Regions from separate parts of the Homo sapiens genome. Here regions 1, 2, 3, 4, 5 and 6 are each linked to region 7. The links are contacts of gene promoters, found by promoter capture Hi-C in blood cells and fetal thymus (Javierre and others, 2016). All regions are on one chromosome and are shown on one strand. Each heading gives the region's core, a stretch centred on a gene start or on the middle of the fragment in contact. The rest is flanking DNA. Distances are from core to core; before and after follow the strand shown. Region 1 overlaps CACNB4 (calcium voltage-gated channel auxiliary subunit beta 4). Region 2 overlaps STAM2 (signal transducing adaptor molecule 2). Region 3 overlaps CACNB4 (calcium voltage-gated channel auxiliary subunit beta 4). Region 4 overlaps CACNB4 (calcium voltage-gated channel auxiliary subunit beta 4). Region 5 overlaps ARL5A (ARF like GTPase 5A). Region 6 has its middle 43 kb from the start of NEB. Region 7 holds the start of MMADHC (metabolism of cobalamin associated D).

What was found. Contacts are between HindIII fragments. The CHiCAGO score rates a contact against its expected background, and 5 or more counts as called.
Region 1: a fragment that was not itself captured here is called in contact with the fragment with the promoter of MMADHC in region 7 in 4 of 17 cell types (naive CD4 T cells, total CD8 T cells, non-activated CD4 T cells and 1 more); the score reaches 7.4 in naive CD4 T cells.
Region 2: a fragment that was not itself captured here is called in contact with the fragment with the promoter of MMADHC in region 7 in 5 of 17 cell types (non-activated CD4 T cells, naive B cells, naive CD8 T cells and 2 more); the score reaches 6.7 in non-activated CD4 T cells.
Region 3: a fragment that was not itself captured here is called in contact with the fragment with the promoter of MMADHC in region 7 in 2 of 17 cell types (naive B cells and total B cells); the score reaches 6.1 in naive B cells.
Region 4: a fragment that was not itself captured here is called in contact with the fragment with the promoter of MMADHC in region 7 in 1 of 17 cell types (total B cells); the score reaches 6.1 in total B cells.
Region 5: a contact is called between a fragment that was not itself captured here and the fragment with the promoter of MMADHC in region 7, in 1 of 17 cell types (naive CD8 T cells). The highest score is 6.6, in naive CD8 T cells.
Region 6: a fragment that was not itself captured here is called in contact with the fragment with the promoter of MMADHC in region 7 in 1 of 17 cell types (total B cells); the score reaches 5.7 in total B cells.

The regions. Positions count from the first base shown.
Region 1 is chr2:151,836,264-151,839,008 of GRCh38, forward strand. CACNB4 (calcium voltage-gated channel auxiliary subunit beta 4) reads right to left here. Exons shown (of 14, transcript NM_000726.5): 14 at 1-2,745. Among named protein-coding and RNA genes, the nearest start is that of ARL5A, 9.2 kb to the left of the region's middle. The HindIII fragment of the contact is 728 bases long and covers 903-1,630 here.
Region 2 is chr2:152,169,546-152,172,245 of GRCh38, forward strand. The region is part of intron 1 of STAM2 (signal transducing adaptor molecule 2); the gene reads right to left. Among named protein-coding and RNA genes, the nearest start is that of STAM2, 4.9 kb to the right of the region's middle. The HindIII fragment of the contact is 4,391 bases long and covers 1-2,700 here.
Region 3 is chr2:152,019,916-152,022,615 of GRCh38, forward strand. The region is part of intron 2 of CACNB4 (calcium voltage-gated channel auxiliary subunit beta 4); the gene reads right to left. Among named protein-coding and RNA genes, the nearest start is that of CACNB4, 78 kb to the right of the region's middle. The HindIII fragment of the contact is 8,232 bases long and covers 1-2,700 here.
Region 4 is chr2:152,038,269-152,041,096 of GRCh38, forward strand. The region is part of intron 2 of CACNB4 (calcium voltage-gated channel auxiliary subunit beta 4); the gene reads right to left. Among named protein-coding and RNA genes, the nearest start is that of CACNB4, 59 kb to the right of the region's middle. The HindIII fragment of the contact is 4,970 bases long and covers 1-2,828 here.
Region 5 is chr2:151,814,777-151,817,476 of GRCh38, forward strand. ARL5A (ARF like GTPase 5A) reads right to left here. Exons shown (of 6, transcript NM_012097.4): 2 at 363-423. Among named protein-coding and RNA genes, the nearest start is that of ARL5A, 12 kb to the right of the region's middle. The HindIII fragment of the contact is 9,623 bases long and covers 1-2,700 here.
Region 6 is chr2:151,775,592-151,778,404 of GRCh38, forward strand. No RefSeq gene overlaps it. Among named protein-coding and RNA genes, the nearest start is that of NEB, 43 kb to the left of the region's middle. The HindIII fragment of the contact is 5,424 bases long and covers 1-2,813 here.
Region 7 is chr2:149,586,375-149,589,074 of GRCh38, forward strand. MMADHC (metabolism of cobalamin associated D) reads right to left here and starts at 1,401. Exons shown (of 8, transcript NM_015702.3): 1 at 1,290-1,401; 2 at 715-775. The coding sequence starts at 723. MMADHC-DT (MMADHC divergent transcript) reads left to right here and starts at 984. Exons shown (of 3, transcript NR_110240.1): 1 at 984-1,476. RefSeq lists enhancers at 612-1,811, 1,128-1,447. The HindIII fragment of the contact is 5,011 bases long and covers 1,120-2,700 here.

The DNA.
Region 1 (2,745 bases), core at 17-2,516, 2.2 Mb after region 7:
TCAAAACAGTAAAAGACTTGTTTCTCTTGCTTATAATCATTTGCTATCTTTAAATGAAATTAATTAAAAACAAAGTATGGAGTATGTATTTTTCAAAGGTGCTTGGTGTGCTTGGCAAAAATAAAACTTTTCATTTAGTATATATCTAGATTTTAAGTATCATTTACACAATAAACTCTTAAGTCTTTAAAAAAAATAAGATGTATATCCCCTTATTTGAGGAAGATAAACTTATTACAGAAAGAAGGGGAAAGAATATTCCAAATTAAAGTAAACATTTAAATATATCCATCAATAAAATATACATTATACCCTTTCCAAGATTGTCAGCTTTTGAATAAGAATGCAAAGCAAAACAGGTATGGACATCTGATGGTAATTGATAGATTGGTTTTGTGCACAGATATTGAATGAGACTCTCTTTATCGGCATGACATGGAAGACTAAAAACAAGGCTTTGAAAAACCTTTAAAAACAAGTGACTTTTAAAAAGTTGAAAGAAGATGGTAATCTTGATGACTAGGAAATATATTTAAATGCTGTTACAGCTACCTGCCATAAAATGTAAGTATCTTAAAGTAGTTAAATGACCAAACTGCTAATGCTACTACAGAAAAAGCTGAACAGCTGTCTAGTCTAAATTTGTACACCTTGGTGCACTCTTTGCAATTAAATACTTTAATGCGCATAAACAAGAAACCAGTAAAGCATATAGAAAAATGTTTTGGCTAATGTTTTCTTTCTCATGCAAGTATGTGCTGTACATGTAATAAATATATTTTTGTTTGCTGGAAGATGCTCTTCTGTGTTCTAACAAAGTATTCAGTAATGGCAGGTTATATGTTTATTAAAGTGCCTAATGGATATAACTCTTTTAAAATGTCTTAACTGAAAGTTTTATAAGCTTCACTAGATGACAGAAGAATCTCACAAGCCAGTATCACATGTTAACTTTTAAAATTTACTAAGCCCATATTTTTTAATTGTATCAAATATTTGAAATGACTTACAGAATTATAGGTATCCTCATTATCAGCTAAACAGGTTCATAATGGGGTACAAACACTGAACATAAATGCAGGGGGATGTGGTGAGGTTGTAATGGGGTTCAAGATATATATATAACTCATCAGTAATGTGGAACTTATTTCCATGGTCAAGAAGATTACTGAACTGGTGCATGCTTTGAGTGCCTGAATACTGAAAGGCTTGGGGAGAAAAGAAGATACTATAAAATTAATTATCATTATTTTCAAAAATAGGCTTCATGACATGTACTAGCAGAAAAGAACTTTTATGGCTGGACTTATTGGGGTTTTAGAAAATGCATGCACTATGGACATTTAGAAATAAGTTTTTTTTTTTAAAGACATTTGTGTAAAAAGGGTCAATTTCAATAATTTCTTAGATCAGAGTGAATCTAAGGCTTCCTTGATAATATAAAACATAGGTCACCAATTCCATAATTATAGCCACTGGAAAAACTGTGAAGACTTAATAAGATGAAGAGGAGTGTTCATTAGAAATAAGGCAGCTCAATCTCCAAATTCTTTATAATTTTCTGCATTAAAAATGCTATAATTTTAGTCAACAAATATTTGCTGAATCTATGAGTTTATTTTTTACTGCAAGCTTTTAAAATCATTTGTTTCAACTTTTTTCAATTAGTCATTTTGTAAAAACATCTCCTGAATATCAAAGTTGAGTGTGTCCACATAAAACGAAATTCCTTAGCATGATTTAAAGAATTTGTTGAAGGGCCAGAACATTCAGATATTCAAAGACAGAGACTGAGAGAAGCAATGGAAAGATACTCAATCTTGTTGGCAGGAAATACAGACCCTGCGTTTGTGTTAAGTGAAATAGATGAATTCCCACCTGGAAGTGTTTAGCATTGCACTCGGGAGGATTGGTACCACATCCTTACTATCTGACTTCAGATTCCTGGATGTATGTAGTTGTGCTCAGATTGATTAAAGGGAGAACAACACCCCATTTTATATTTCACATAACCAGCTATGCTTGGGCCTCTCTTTACTATTCTCTCTCACTGCTGAAAAAAATTTGAGGTTTTTTGCTTGTTTGTATTTGTTTTTGCCAACTTCAAATGAGCTAACAGTACTGACCAAACAAAAAGCAAAACACTTTGAATACAACAGCTGTGCCAGGAAAGAAATAAAAATATTAAAATCTGAGGAGACTATATAATTTCTGCATTAAGATTTCTGAGATTTTTTTTTTGGCACTATCAATACATTTGGTAAGTCTGAAAAGTCATTCTGGCAACATTAACATATATTAAAATGTTTATACACTCCAACTTTAAGTGTAAATTTAGCTTCCAGCAAATAAATACCAAAGCTGGATTTGGCTTCTATTGGTATTTCGATTTTCTTATTAGTTTTTTTTTTTTCCCCCCAGATTTTTCAGTTGATTACAACATGCTCAAGTAGACTTTCTAGTCAATTCACCCAAATTCCAACAGGAATTGGTTTATAAATTGGTTCCAACTGGAACTGGTCATTTGGAATTTCCAGCATGGGAAATTATTTTATATGTGCCTTGTAAGTACCCTAAATTACAAATTGATGTGTCTAAATCTATGAAGAAAACAAAATGTACTGTTATCATGTAAATGTTGCACTTAAAAATATCTATATGATCGGGCATCTAATATCCATCTAGACTCAAGGGCATAATGTAATTTTTTTTTTTGCCCCTTACTTAGCATAAAATGACAGCAGC
Region 2 (2,700 bases), core at 12-2,511, 2.6 Mb after region 7:
GTCACTGCACCCTGCCATCAATTTTTAAAAAGTAACCCAACAGAATAATAAAAGTAATGAGCAGGCAATTTATAGAAAAAGAAAACAGAATGATGAAGAAACATATGAAAAAATGCTCATCTTCACTGGCAATGAAGTAGAAATAGAAAATGAAATGAAAACAATGTCTTACTTCATATTCATCAGATAGGCATAAATTAGAAAATCTGACAATGCTCAGCATTAGTGAGGATGTGGAACAACAGGAATTTCACTGCTGACAGGAGGGAAATCAACAAACACTTGGAAGGGCAACTTTGCAAGAGCTACACTTTTTTTTTTTTTTTGAGATGGAGTCTCACTCTGTTGCCCCAGCTGGAGTGCAGTGGCACAATCTCCGCCTCCCAGGTTCAAGTGATTCTTCTACCTCAGCCTCCCGAGTAGCTGAGATGACAGGCATTCACCACCACACTCAGCTAAGTTTTGTATTTTCAGTAGAGACACGTTTCATCATGTTGGCCAGGCTGGTCTCAAACTCCTGACCTCAGAAGATTTGTCCACCTCAGCCTCCCAAAGTGCTGGGATTACAGGCATGAGCCACCACACCAGGCCAAGAGCTACACTTCTACTGAAGAATTCCCCTTCAAGACGACAACCTTTAAGAATTTTGCACTCCACTGGGCACAGTGGCTCATATCTGTAATCCCAGCACTTTGGGAGGCCAAGACGGGCGGATCACGAGGTCAGGAGTTCGAGACCAGCCTGGCCAACATGTGAAACCCCGTCTCTACTAAAAATACAAAAAAAAATTACCTGGGCATGGTAGCAGGCGTCTGTAATCCCAGCTACTTGGGAGGCTGAGGCAGGAAAATCATTTGAACCTGGGAGATGGAGGTTGCAGCGAGCTGAGATCGCGCCACTGCACTCCAGCCTGGGTGACAGGGCAAGACTCCGTCTCAAAAAAAAAAAAAAAAGAATCTTGCACCCATAAACACAAGAAAACATAGATAAAAACTTTCAATACAGAGCTGTCTGTAGGTGCAAGAAATTGAAAACAAAGTCATGTTCGTCAATAGGACAACAGATAATGCATATTCATATAGTAGTATAGTATCACGCAGCCATTAAAATTTATAACCTAGAGCTACAAACATCAACATGAATAACTCTCACGAAGAAATGCTGAATGGGCCAGGCACGGTGGCTCACGCCTGTAATCCCAGCACTTTGGGAGGCCAAGGCAGGCAGATCACCTAAGGTCAGGAGTTCGAAACTGGCATGGCCAACATGGCGAAATCCCATCTCTGCTAAAAAATGCAAAATTAGCCGAGCATGGTGGTGCGCACCTGTAACCCCAGCTACTCGGGAGGCTGAGGCACAAGAATTGCTTGAACCTGGGAAGCAGAGGTTGCAGTGAGCTGAGATTACACCACTGCACTCCAGCCTGGGCGACAGAGCAAGACTCCGTCTCAAAAAAGAAGAAATGCTGGATGACAAAAGTTGCAGAATGACAAAAAGACACCATTTTTAAGAAGTTTAAAAACATCCAAACAATATATAGTATATTTGTAAGTGTAGTATTATACTATTAAAGAGAATTTCTATCTATTTATAGAGTGTTTAACTCGGAGAAAGGAGGAAGAATGGGATCAGGTAGCTGCTAAAAATACTAAAGTATTTCACTGCATCTTGAATGTTCCTTTCTTAAAAAAAAAGAATCAAGTATATCAAAATATTAGCACTTGACATAATTGCCTGGCAGGAATGGGAGTTCATATTTTCTATTTTATGCTGAAAATATTTCATAGTTTAAAAAGCTACAAAATATATTAGAAAAAAAACTGGCTGTTAAGTCTACTATTCTTATTCAAAACCAAAAAACTTTTTAAAAAAATTTTTACTTTTACAAAGATTTTAACTTATTGTACAAAGAGTGGCCTAGTTAAGTAAATGTTATAAATTTGTGTGTATGTTATGAATTTATATTATTCTTATGCTATCAATATCTATTTTTATATTGGGATTTCTTATAAAATTTCACTGGAGAAAAGGACTGCATGACTGCATTTCACTGGAGAAAGTCCCAAGCTACTTCCTGGTCAACTTCTTCTAACACAGCAAAAGTCAGAAACACAGCAATACACACATTAAAATGTCACTTGGAAATGTATTCTCTTAAAAGCTAACAATTCAAACCACTGCGTCCACAGAGTTTTGTAGAGGTAGAATTTGAGCTCAGCTTTGTGGGACACAAGCGTATCTTTAAAGGAAATACCAAGGTTGAAAAGAGCAAACATTTAGCAATGAATGGTAAATAGCACAGAGGCAGAAAACTGGCAAGAAAGATTGCCTGGCTTGAGTAAAGGGAAAAAAGATATGCAAACAAGAACCGGAGTTAAGGCTTAGAACAGACAAGTCATGACTTGGAAATCAATGAATAAGGAAATGACATCTTCTCTGTTAACACTAACCACTGTGGCCCCGTCCCCCATGTTTCACTTTCCCCTTGGAATTCTACAAGAATGGCTACTCCAACCAGGCTCTACCTCAAGATCCCTGTACCCCTCTAACACTTGAGGCCCAGCTGGGGAGAAGAGGTGGGACCTAAGGATATTTTCTTTTTTCCCCTCAGAACACATCAAAGAAATCTTATTAAACAAAACAAAAAAATGAATCTAGATAAAATGTTTAAAGAGTTCTAACACTACCAAATCTAGTATA
Region 3 (2,700 bases), core at 47-2,546, 2.4 Mb after region 7:
TGCCAAAAGAGGAAGAGGAATCTTTAGATTGAGAGGCAGTCAGAATGAGAGTGAGAGGGCAAAGAAGGCCCAGAAGCAGATGAAGCTCTTAAAAACTCAAGGAAAAACCACTGTGTTTCTATGCCTCCACTTCCAGGATTTTCACCCTGCAGCCTATGTGTACATTCCCAAATCAATGTCTCTGGAACCTAGAGATCCTGGTCCAGTCCTGTTTATTGTGGGCTCTACCCTTTAGGGAAAGGAGAGCCTTTGCAGACTAAGAAGTACCCAACAGCATCGATTTGAGATGCTGGGGCCATGACAGTTTAATTGAAAGAGGCTATCAGGCATTTCTATGTCCATTTGGGTTTTGATGGGATCAAGATGGTGGGTGGCATTCTTCCCCTATTCTTCCAGGATTTCTCCCATTAATGGCTCCTGGGTGAGAACTGGATAAGTGCCATTCTCTAAAGGCTTCCAATTTGGCAATGAAGTTGTGATGATGCTTCAGAGAGCATTTCAGTATAGGGTGAGGGGGCAAGAAGCCAGGTGCTCCTGTCTGAGAAGTGAATTGGACGTGAGGAAATAAAGGAAATGGGTAGAAGATTTCTCTTTTGTGATGTCTGATGATAAAGAAAGAAAAGAAAGATCCAGCAGTAGTTTGAGAAGGAAATTGTGGGGAGTTAGTAGGTTTTTGTGTTTACTATTCTTTTGATTTCAGAATGGGATGTACTTTGGTGCCATGAAGCCAAAGGAGAAGTTCTCAGAGGACAGGGAAAGACTGAAGTTGAAGAGCATAACCAACAGTGATAATTAACAGGTGGCGATGCTGGTAACGGGGTTAGAATTGAGAGCACACCCAGAGGAGGAAGCCGGGGAAAGGAAAGCACAAGGCATTCCCTTGTCTGAAACACTGCTGGAAGCAGGCAAAAACCTAACCTCGGGCACCTAAATTGTGCTTTACATAAATGTAAATATTTAATATCCTCCACCTGCATTCAAGGCTTATCCCCAAAATCAACGCTTAAAATAACTCGGAAACTACTAGCACAGAGACTGAAGAAAAAAATAACTCTAGCTGGGTGCGGTGGTTCACACCTGTAATCCCAGCACTTTGGGAGGCTGAGGCGGGTGGATCACGAGGTCAGGAGATTGAGACCATCCTGGCCAACGTGGTGAAACCCCGTTTCTACTAAAATACACCACACCAGGTGTGGTGGCGAGCGCCTGTAGTCCCAGCTATTCTGGAGGCCGAGGCAGGGGAATCGCTTGAACCCGGGAGGCGGAGGTTGCAGTGAGCAGAGATTGCATCACTGCGCTCCAGCCTGGTGACACAGCAAGACTCCATCTCAAAATAAATAAATACATAACTCTGAAACATTAAAACAATTTTTTTTCAAACTATATTCTCTACCTTATATTTAAGCAAGCAGAAAAACACATAATCCATTTTAGAATGATTTCAAATTTAAAAAAATTATAGGTCAGATACTCAAAGGGTTAAAACTTCAAATAAGGAGTAATGTTACCCTTCTGGCAGCCAAAGTTTGACTCAATAAAAACAGGCATATTCATTGCATCAACCCATAATCTCTTAACATTTGATTTGCCTCAAAATTTCAGTAGACTATTGGTGAAAACATGGTGAAAAATCTCTTCATATGAAAATATTTTGCTTTTGAAAATACTGTCAAAACTTGCATAAATATTTGACATTCATTCTAAATAATAAAACAATGTCTCTTTTTCCCCTTCTCATACGTATGTAAATCAATGATGCTTTATCAAGGATAAAAATACCATTAGATTTAGACTTCACAGAATTGGAGACAACTCACAAGGAACTAGACACTGAATCTTAAACATGAAAGGAAGAAAACTGAAAAGCTAAAAGTAATTTGATGTTTCTTTTTTTCTTTCTTAATTCAACTCTCACATCTAACTCTTAAGAAAGGATACAGCTTATTCTTTTATCTTGCTGAACATTGGCTTTTTACGTTTTATCTTCTTCTTGAAAAGATTTTCTCTACTAGAATAGGTATTTAAAGTCAAGGCTATATACATTCAAGAAGTATAAGCGTCTAATCTTTAAACATGTCATTTTGATCCAGCATCCAAAGTTGTATTAAAAAGCACATTTACAGATAAGTTCCTTCACAGTTGTAGTGACTGCACATGAGCTCATCAAGTAAGCCTTGGGGAAACAAAGAACCTCTCTCCTCCTCTCTTTGGCAATCGGCTTATTGCCTATTACTTGCATCTCTCCCCTTCAACCACCTCTGCATCATCTTCAACCAAATATACACCACTCAAACTGCTACCCTTAATTTCACTCCTACAAATAAGCCCTGTTTGTTTACTGTTCACCATTCATTATACCATGAGTGAAGGACAGAGATGAATCATACTCAGCCCGTAGCCATCAAGGAGAAGTGGTGGAGGGAATGTGAAACCAATAACTATTTCACAAAGGACACAATCCATGTCTCCAATGATATAAAAGCGAAGTGCTTCAGAGTGCTTTGCAAAAAGCAACTAATTTAGTCAAACACAATATAAAAACATCAGCAGTAATCAAGAATAATCCCTATTGCTACAATTTTTCTAAAATTCCCTGGTTTTAAGTTGGACAAGAAGTGCAATATTCCTTTCAAAGAGATACCAGCATGTCACAGATCTCTATTTTTAAAATATGCTTGATTTGCATATACGAAAGCATGG
Region 4 (2,828 bases), core at 153-2,652, 2.5 Mb after region 7:
CTCACACCAGAGTGTGCACAAGTTGCTGAGAACCACGCAACAGCCCTCCCCGGCCTTTTCCAAGTTCTGCTGCTTGCCTTTGGCCTAATGAGCCAAATTCAGACTGTATATCCCCAATGCAGCTTCTACTGACAGACAAGGGTTTGGCAAGAAGCTGGAATGCAGCTTGATTGCAGATAATGAATGTGTTCAGCAGAGATGATGAGCACCTGGGACACAGGCTTCTACCTCAGCACCGAGTCTGGCTGGGAGATGGAAGAGGATAGGTGTGCGTGAGCAGCTGGAGGCACAGAAGAGGAAAGGCCCACTACTCTGCTGCAGCCTGCTGGCTCGTATAACAGCTCATTAACAGCAGAGGCTGAGACTTCCTTTTCCTCTTTCCACAAAAGACATGGCAATAAAAGCAGGACAGGCTGCAAACTCAGCCATTTTCAAAGACTCATGGCATGTGAGATTGGGAGGAGGGTGACCAGCTGTGGCCACACAGATGGGGACAGAGGCCCTGACTGGTGCTAGGACACGTTAGTGGTGGAGAGGGACAGTTCCCTCAGGCCTTCCACCTCCCAGCCCAGGACACTCTGGACAGGAAATCTCCCCCTCTCTTCCCAGCCCTGTATGTCCCCACCCCAAGAGGGTGTGACACTTCCTCATGTTCCCTGCTGGCCCATTGGCTAGAGCTCTGGACGGATATAGAGGAAAGATAATACAGTAATTCAGAACTGAGGTCATTGCTTGCTTAGTTAATATAGGGATAATTAAACAGCATTTAAAGAAAATGGTTTAGCTGTATAAGCAAACATTTCCTTGTATTTAAAAAAAAGCAAGAAACATAGTTTTCTGAGGTCTCTACTTAAGAATCTTATTATTGGGCCGAGCGCGGTGGCTCACACCTGTAATCCCAGCACTCTGGGAGGCCGAGGCCGATGGATCACGAGGTCAGGAGTTCAAGACCAGACTGGCCAAGATGGTGAAACCCCATCTCTACTAAAAATACAAAAATTAGCCAGGTGTGGTGGTGGGTGCCTGTAATCCTAGCTACTCGGGAGGCTGAGGCAGAGAACTGCTTGAACCCGGGAGGCGGAGGTTGCAGTGAGCTGAGATCTCGACACTGCACTCCAGCCTGGGCGACAGAGCAAGACTCTGTCTCAAAAAAAAAAAAAAGAATCTTACTATTCCCTCAATGCTGAACCCAAACCTTCCCCTGACCAGTCTTTTGGAGGAAGCCTACACTTCTCCTACTCTGTTCACTTGCCAAGCAGCATATGGAGCCCTAGAATATTCTTGTTTTCATATAGGTTTTATCTTACATTTCCAACTACATTATTTGTTCTATGAGGATAAGAGCCTTGTTATATGCTCTATGTCTTAATGAAAACATCTGATAAAACATGAGTGATCACTCTGTGCATGGCAGGCAGGCAAGGCAAGGGAGTAGGGTGGGACCAAGCACTGATCACAGAAATGCAGGTATTCCTTCCAACCCTGGAAAAGTAGAGCGAAGCTCAGGGAAAACTACGTAAGTCCTCAGAAACATAGTCGAAGGCATGAAGTAAGCACTGAAGCAGACCATATGGAAAATAACATCTATTTTTCAAAAGAATTTAAAATAGAGAATGCAGAAAAAAAGAAGAAGTTTATGGCAATATGATTCTTGTGTACACCGAAGACATAATTTGTTGACAAAGATTAAAGTCACTTAATGGTCTTAAGGCAATGAGTATACTTTATATCCAAAAAGAATAAGAATTTTAATTCCACCTTCTATTTCTACAAAAATTGTACTGGCTGATAAGTGATGGCCCCCAGTTTTCATTGCGGCTAAATGGGAATGTCTCATTTATGGGCTATTCTGAATAAATTAGCTGGGAGTTTTTTTAAGTATCAAAAATACCAAGAGGTCTAACCCATATACTAGTTAAAAAGTAGAATTTTATACATCTGCTGAATCTGAAGGCTCATGATTCTCCTATCTCACAGTATTTAACTCCTACATTTTATAAAGAATTCAATGACATCTAGAATCTTTAAATTTATAAATATCTATCATTAAATCTGGCTCAGATAATAATTGAACCAAAGCATATAATGCCATGTCTATTCATGCCCTCACATTTCACTGATACTTTCTTCAGCTAATTAATTTTATTTATCTATTTGTATTATTTTATTTTATTTATTCATTTATTTTTTTGAGACACAGTCTTGCTCTGTCACCCAGGCTGGAGTGCAGTGGCACATTCTCGGCTCACTGCAACCTCCGCCCCCTGGGTTCAAGTGATTCTACTGCCTCAGCTTCCTGAGTAACTGGAATTACAGGCGCACACCACCATGCCCAGCTAATTTTTGTATTTTTAGTAGAGACGAGGTTTCACCATGTTGACCAGGCTGGTTTGAACTCCTGACCTCAGGTGATACACTCGCCTCGGCCTCCCAAAGTGCTAGGATTACAGGCGTGAGCCACCGTTTCCAGCCAGCTAATTAAATTTAAAAAGAAGTTTTCAAGATTAGCAAAACCTTTACAACTCATCTAACAATGTAGTCCTTTGTTCACATCTAAATGCATATGCTGCCGGTGCCAAATGATGGTGATTAACCCCTGGCTGATATTTTCTGTGAAACAAATTGGTATTTTCAAGACAATTTCCTAGTGAGAAAATGTCCACATAAACAAAATTGCATTTTGATCAAATCCCCATGTTGGTCATCTTGGCAAAGCCCTCAAAGACCATGGCAAAACAGCCACGACTGCATCGCCTGACCTCAGCCTTTTGGGCCCTTTGGGAGCAGACTCCCCACACTCCATGGGAGAAACACCATTAGGCCATTAG
Region 5 (2,700 bases), core at 94-2,593, 2.2 Mb after region 7:
TGTGACCCAAGCGGTTTCTCAAAGTCCTGGCTTTAAGCGATCCTCCCACCTCTGCCACCCAAAGTGTTGGGATAAAGGCATGAGGCACCGCACCCGGCCATATTTTTCTACTTTCTACAAACAAAAGAGCTTTAGCACAAAACAAGTGGACAACTCAATGCCAACTATATGCTCAATATCATATAAATTTCTTGCTTTCTACTAACTATTGCTGAGATCTGGCTCCAGGTTTATAGCCAACCTGCTTTCTTACAGGGTAACTTAGGTTTCATGTAATTTCTTACTGCATTCATTGATCGACTATCACCCAGGCCAAAAAAGTAACTAGAAATAAAATAATTTTTAAAATAGTTAATACTTACAATTGGTAAAGAATGGTAGTTTTCCCTGCATTATCCAGCCCAACAATGATAACTTTGTGCTCTGAAATAGAGAAAACACCAGTGATTTTTTTTCAAAAAAGGAAAAAAAAAGATTAATTATAGGAAAAAATATACTCTGTATCTCACCCTTCTATCTATGGCATAATTCAGTGCATGGCACTTTATACTTTCTCAGAAGTCAAAAGAACATCCTAGCAAGACCAGCAGAAGTGTGCCATTATACTCACCTTCCCCATCGCCATTATTCTAGAGACAACTCTCATCTTTCCAACCACCTCTCTAGGAAGCCATGGCACTACATTTCCTCTATTCCTAGGCAAGCCTACTCTCAGTAAAGTAGACCAAACATAATCACAATTTACAAATGACTTAAAGTATAAATGTTTCACATTGGATTACATCAATGAGGTTCTAACTGGAACTTAAGGCATCAACTGGGTGCATGTGTGTGGAGTGGAGTGAATGGGAAGGAAAAAGGTCAGTTTTTTAAATGGGTAATCGTAAATTATGAGTACCTTAAAACCACAGGGCCACTGTAACATGAAAAACAAATCTAAGAACCTATGGCTATGGTGGCAGCGACTCCCTCCCCCCATTTGGCTTCTGTGGCACCACTTTCTCCAAGTTTTCTTCCTGTCTCTAGTCATTTATTTTTTTTCAATGACTCCTCTTCCTTGAGTCTTCTCTCAGACATTCACGTTCCCCAGATGTTTTCTTGCACCCTCTTCACATTTCAGCCAGGCATTTGTAAGACCCATCTATTTCCAGCCTGTCCGAAAGCAATTCCCAAAGACAGCACAGCATGTGGTAGAAGCTAGTGTCCAAGATGGCCTCTGGATAGTCATGCCCTTACGTAGCCGCCTCCTCTTGAATCTGGGGTGGCCCTGTGACTTACTTTTAACCCACAGATGCAGCAGAAATGACCAGACGTGATTTCTGAGCCTAAATCATCAGAAACATTGCAGTTGCTGCCTGGCTGTCTTGGACAAGTCCTCCTAGGGTAAGTCAGATACTATACAGCAAGCCCAAGACTGCTGTGCAATTTAATGAGTAAGCCCAAGTTGATCATGTGGTGAGACCCTGTTGAAAGGGATGACCAGTCAGCCCCTATCTCTTCCAGCCATTCTAGCTGAGATGATAGACAGACAAATAAAGAAGCCATCTTGGACGTGCAGCCTGGTTGAACCTACAGAGTACTTTAATTTTAGCTGCTATCTGACTGCAACCAAAGGAGACTCCCCAAGGTAGAACTTCCTAGCTGAGCTTAGTCGACGCGTAAGAAACATGAAAAATAATAAATCATTGCTTTAAGTCATAAAATTAAAGAATAGCTTATTACACAGAAACAGATAACTGAAGGAGATATTAATGGCATTATATGACCTTGAGCAAATGACTTTTATTATTTCTCTGACCTTAAGTTTCTTCATTGTAAGATAGGGGAAATACCACCTATCACTCAGGGTTGTTTAACAATTAAAATAGCACACAGCAGTGCCTAGCACTGAAGAGGAGAGAGTTCTTAACCTGTTTTGCTAGCCCAGAAAAAGATAAAAATTTACTAGAAACTGTACTTCAAAGTTTGAATTTTGATCTTTTCCAAGGCTAGTGATATCTAGTACAACACTCTCAAGACACTGGGCAGTAGCAATAAGCTGCAGCTCCCAGTCGGCCATTCAATAACGAGGGTAAACAACCAATACTGCATAATAGTATACACTGTGCTATCAAATGGTTTTGCCCTACTGGAGGCTAATGTCTGTGTATTGAGCACATTTAAGGTAGGCTAGGCTAAGCTATGATGTTCAGCAGGTTAGGTGTAATAAATGTGTTTTGACTTAAGTTACTTTCAACTTACAACAAGTTTATTGGCACATAACTACATCACAAGTTGAAGGGCATCTATAAACTAAAGTTCAAGTCACTCTCCCTACACAAGCTGCACATATGTTCACAGCAAACATTTCTCTACAGCTACTCATGGTATCACTAAATGTCGGAATTATCCTAATTCTCCATTTAGGGAATTAGACCAATCCTTTAAAGTCTAGCTTTCCATGTAGAATCACTTTCTCCTGCTTTCCCACACTACCTCTACTCTAGCACTTATCCTAATTATTTACATGTGCACTAATCTCCGCTTAATGAGGCATCTTCAACTGTATAGAATACATATTAATCATCTTTACATTTCTAGTGACTACAACTATTCCTGGCATAAAGTAGGTACTCAATAAATGTTGAATTAATATTCATTCTATAAGTAATAAATGTTGAGGATTATAACACCTCAGAGTAAGATCTTTATAATTCAAAT
Region 6 (2,813 bases), core at 85-2,584, 2.2 Mb after region 7:
GGGACAGAGGCATGTACCACCACGCCAGGGTAATTTACTTATTTTTTATTTTTTGCAGAGATGGGGTCTTGCTACGTTGACCAGGCTGGTCTTGAACTCCTGGCCTCCCAAATTGCTGGGATTACAAGCATGAGCCATGATGCCTGGCCCCTAAAAGTCACTTTTAAGGAGACAGTTTCCTACCCAGAAACCTGGGACAAACTCATTTCAGTAGACAGCCCAGTTGGCTAGTACCAACATCCCAATGGAAAGCATGCTAGCCACAAATTAGCCAAAGAAAGTATTATCGGAAGAAAAAAATTACATTACATATTGCTAGCGTCTGAATATGTCCCCCCAAATTCATATGTTGAAACATAATTACCAATGTGATAGTGTTGAGAGGTGAGGCCTTCAGGAAGTAATCAAGTCATAAGGGCAGTGCCCTCACGGATAGGATTAGGGCCCTCATAAAAGGGCTTAAGGGACCAGGCCCTCACCAGACACTGAACCTGCCAGCACCTTGGTCTTGGACTTCCCAGCCTCCAGAACTGTGAGAAATAAATCTTTATTGTTTGTAAATTACCCAGTCTGTGTTAGAATGTTACAGCAGTAAAAAATGGACTAAGACACATACCCTGCCACGACAAATCCCAGAACAGTACTGTCAGTGAAAAGAGCCAAAGTCTGTAAAATATTTGAAGAGTTTTATTTTGAGCCAAATATGAGTGACCATGGCCCACAGCACTGTCTCAAGAGGTCCTGAGAACATGTGCCCAAGGTGGTTGGGTTGCAGCTTGGTTTTATATGTCTTAGGGAGACAAAAGACATCAATCAATACATGTGAGGTATACATTGGTTAAGTCCCAAAAGGCAGGACAATTTGAAGGGTGGGGACTTACAGGTCACAGGTGGATTCAAAGATTTTCTGATTGGCTGAGAGTTAAGTTATTATCTAAAAACCTGGGATCAATAGAAAGGAGTGTCTGGGTTAAGATAAGGGGTTGTGGCTCCAAGGTTCTTACTATGCAGTGAAGCAGGCAGTTTCCAGTAGTCTATAGGTGGCAGGCCTTTCAGACCATAGATGGCAAATGTTTCCTATTCAATCCTTTAAGAGGTGCGAGACTCTCAGTTAATCTCTTCAAGACTGGGAGGACCTGGTAGAGGAAAGACCTAGTTATGTTAATGGAGATTCTTTACAGAGGCAAATTTCCCCCCCAAAAAAACAGCTTTACAGAGCTATTTCTAAATATGGTGATGAAACATATTTTTGGGGTAAAACATTTTGGTTTCCCTCTTCATCTGTCATGTGATGTTATGAGAGTCAAGTTGGAAAGTAATCCATGTTACATAGGGTTAAATAAAATCCATCTTCTGAGACTTTCTGTTTGTACTGTGTGACTTCTCTGACCCCTTAGGTAGGGATTTAGACAAGAGAGAAAAATGGTCAGAGTTTAGTCCTTGGTATGTTTTGGTGTCTGGGTCTTGCTCTGTCAGCCAGACTGGAGTGCAGTGACACAATCATGGCTCAGTGTAGCCTTGACCTCCTGGGCTCAAGTGATCCTCCCACCTCAGCCTCCCAAGTAGCTGGGACTACAGACACATACCACCATACCTGGCTAATTTTAAAATTTTTTTGTAGCAACAAGATTTTTCACTTTGTTGCCCGGGCTGGTCTTGAACTCCTGAGCTCAAGTGCTCCTTCCACCTCAGCCTCCCAAAGTGCTGGGATTACAAGAGTGAGCCACTGTGCCCAGCCTGGTTTGCACTTTGAGATGCTCTGTTGGCAGACTCCTCAGCAAAGCCTGCTGCCTGCTGTGTCTTCCCACTGGTGCAACAAGCCTGTTGCTCTTTGGGTGTCCTCTGCTCTCCTGTCTCTTTGGGGCTCTGGGAGACACAGGCTTTTGCATATTCACCTCACTCCTGGTCCAGTGTCCTTACTCATTCATCATGGGCACTTTAGGTCTTTCTGCTGTTCCAGATGTTAACAGGTGAATGAAGTCTCATAGTCACCGTATCAACCAGTGGGTACGGCAGCTTTCAGAATAAAACTTTCTTTCTCCAATTCTTTGCATTGTGCTATTATCTATCAACTGGCATATATTGAACACTAGGAGGCTCCAGACCTGCCCTGTCCAGTACAGGAGTCATTAGCTACTTTAGGCTATGGAGCACTTGCAAGGCACCTAATACAAATTGAGATGTGCTCTGAATGTAAAATACACGATGGATTTTGAAGACTTAACACAAAAAAAGTAAAATATCTCAATAATTTTTATACTGATTACATGTTGCAGTGGTAACATGTTAGATATATTGGGTAATTAAAATGTATTAGTAAAATTAACTTTATTGTTTCTTATTACGTTTGAATGTAACTACTCAACAATTTAAAATTACATATGTGGCACACATCTTACTTCTATTGGACAGCACTGCCCAGGACATGTTTATTCAAATGTCTGTTGAGTGCCTATGAGGGTTTAGTCACTAAGCCAAGTGCTAGCTGCATGATGGGGCTTATGAAGAAAATCAAAGCCTTTGCCTTCATGAAGACAGATAGTAATGTAAACACCCTGTGGGTTCTTGCCGGCTTCCCAGATAGAGCCAATTTATCAAGGCAGGGGAATTGCAATAGAGAAAGAGTTTACCACTGCACTCCAGCCTGGGTGAAAGAGTGAGACTGTCTCAAAAAAAAAAAAAAAAAAGAGAGAGTTCATTAGAGTGAATAGGCAACCTACAGAATGGGAGAAAACTTTTGCAACCTATCCATCTGACAAAGGGCTAATATCCAGAATCTACAAAGAACTTAAACAAATTTACAAGAAAAAAAC
Region 7 (2,700 bases), core at 151-2,650:
GAGTTCTTTGAATATACCTTCCTGTCCTTCCCGCTCATATTTTAGACTATACAAATCCCACCTATCTTTCAAACCTCAAGTTAAATGTTTCCCTCATGAAGTGATCCCAAACTCCTCTCCACAAAGACTTGAATCTGCATTGCACCTTCGTGTAGGTTCTAAAAAAAATTATTACTTTATACTTTAATTGTAGCTGTTTTTATATATGTCTTATGACCGCTACATATGAATTCTATAGATAGGATGTGTCTAATCACTGCAAAGTTACAGTCAATAAATATCTCTGGTGTGTGAGAGTATCTCCTATTCTTATTTTGTAGGATTTAGAAGGTCACTTCCAATATGGAAACTGTTTTAAAAAAAAGAAAAAAAGATTAAAAAAACCCTTCAGTTTAGCTAACCCAAAAGCTAAAAAAGGGCCTAAACATAGATTCTAATATTTACTGAAACGCTGTATTTAAAAAATACCGAAAGGGTGCTTGAATTTCCACATCTGTACAAATGAAATTGTATAAATAAGTGTATTTGCAGTGCAAAGAATGCTACCATCTTCAAAGCATAACATAATTTCACACCACTTGCTTCCCTTGACATTTTTGATACATTATATCTAACACTATACCACCCAATGCCATCATAATTAAACCCGTTCTTTCATTCCTAACATTCCCAAACGAGTTTACTATGCTGATTCTTAAGAGATAATTTACTCACATTGGCCATCTCCGCTGGAGAAGATAGTTCGCAAAATAGCTTTCCTTTGGTAAAGTTATTTCTGGGAAAGAACACAACAAAACAGACGAGTGATCGATTAAACTCTAACAACAGACAACTGAGGTAACGTCCACTCTTCGAAGGTGTGTCGTCCACCACGTCAGGACCAAAGTCCAAGCTCTCCCCGTACCCTAAGGAGGCCAGAACTCGCCCCCATGCCAGGCACAGATCCCCCAGCCCGGAGCCGGCAGTGCAGCTCAGAGCCCTTCCGGTTTACAGCCGCGGAAAAACAACTCGGACCAGATCCGGGAGGGGAATGGGGGCTGGGTGGCCAAAATTCAGTCCAGAGGATCGAAGCGGCTGCTTTAACAGAAGTTGGGGCTGCGTAACAACAGCTCCAAGCAAAGCTTCAGGCTGATCGGAAAGATGAGGAAGCAGAAAAGAGACTAAAGACAGACGGACAGGATGGCTGGGGACAACGACAGGGACCCAGTGAAAATACGGGCAATACCGAGGGCTGTAACCCTAACACGGGCAAATTTGGAGGGGCTAACATGGGCGGAAACCATCCGTACCAGTCACCACCACTGTCTCCAGCTGTCCCAGAACCGGACTCTTCCTGCCATCAAAATGGCGGCGGCGACGGCAGCGGTGGTAGCACCTACGCTGGCGGTGAGCAGGCAAAGGAAGTTGCTTCCGAGCGCGTCGAAACGATGATGCGCACGCGCAAAGTAGGCCTACGTGGAGCCGACCTGCCATTGGGTAAACGCAAGGGAGGAGAAAAGGTGGGGCAGGGGTGATTTGGGTGGATGGATAGGAGGGCTTCCGACCTGCGTTAGGCGGGTCAGTTAATCTTCAGTAACTCCTTGATGCGTTTGATAGTCCTCCCAACTTAAGCCTTCCTTACTGCCTCCAGGAGATACAGTCTTCTGTTCTTTTTGTCATAGTTGTTTATTTTTCATGAATCGCTGTTTTTGAGCATAGGGCACTTACCTCTTTCTGTGTCCCCAGCCCTACCACAGTGCCAGGCTCTCAATATGCTCGATAAATATTAGGCGATTGATTTGTAAATCGTGTATCATTTTCATGTATCTAATACTTTTTTAAAAATTGATTAAAGCCCATAAGCCCATATTTTATTCCAGATGTCCTTAGTTTTCGACCTGGTATTCTTTTCCATTCCAGGATCCTGTCCGGAGTACATCACCATGTCTTCCAGGCTCCTCTGGACCGTGACCGTTTCTCAAACTTTCCTTGTTTTTGATAACCTTAATAGTTTTGAAGCGACTTATTGGTCATTTGGTCAAATGTCCTTCAATTGGGTTTTGCCTGTATTTTTCTCATGCATTAACTGAGGTTATGGGTTTTTCTTGAGTTAAGAGGTAAGGTAAAGTGATCTTCTCATCACATCACATCAAGGGTATATACTATCAACATGACTTATTACTGTTGATGCTAACCTTTATCACCATTATTACAGTGTCATACAGAAAAGTTTTATAGTTCTACAAAGATCCCCTTTGTTTCATCTAGTAAGCCCTTCCACCTCCCTATGTAGGGTTTGTCAGGTTTCTCCACTGTGAAGTTACTGTTTTTCTTTTCCTCTCCATACTATACTATTTGGAAGGACATCTCTCTGTGCAGCCCAAACTATAGGAATGGGAAATTGTTATACTCCACCTTTATGAGGACAGAATATCTTCATGAATTATTTGGAATTCTTCTGCATGGGAGATTTGTCTGTACTGCATTTATTTATGTATTCAATCATTTATGTCAGTATGGACTCATGGATATTTATTTTACATTTTGGGTTATAATCCAATACTACTTTATTTTGTTGTTCATATTGGTTCCAGCTTTGGCTATTGAGATTTCCTTTAGTTGGCATTTGTGTCTTTTTGACAAACCCTCCTCGTTTTATGTTTATTGATTTTTTTTCTTGAGCATTTTCTTAATTTCTATAAGTTGCTCCAGGCTCATCTT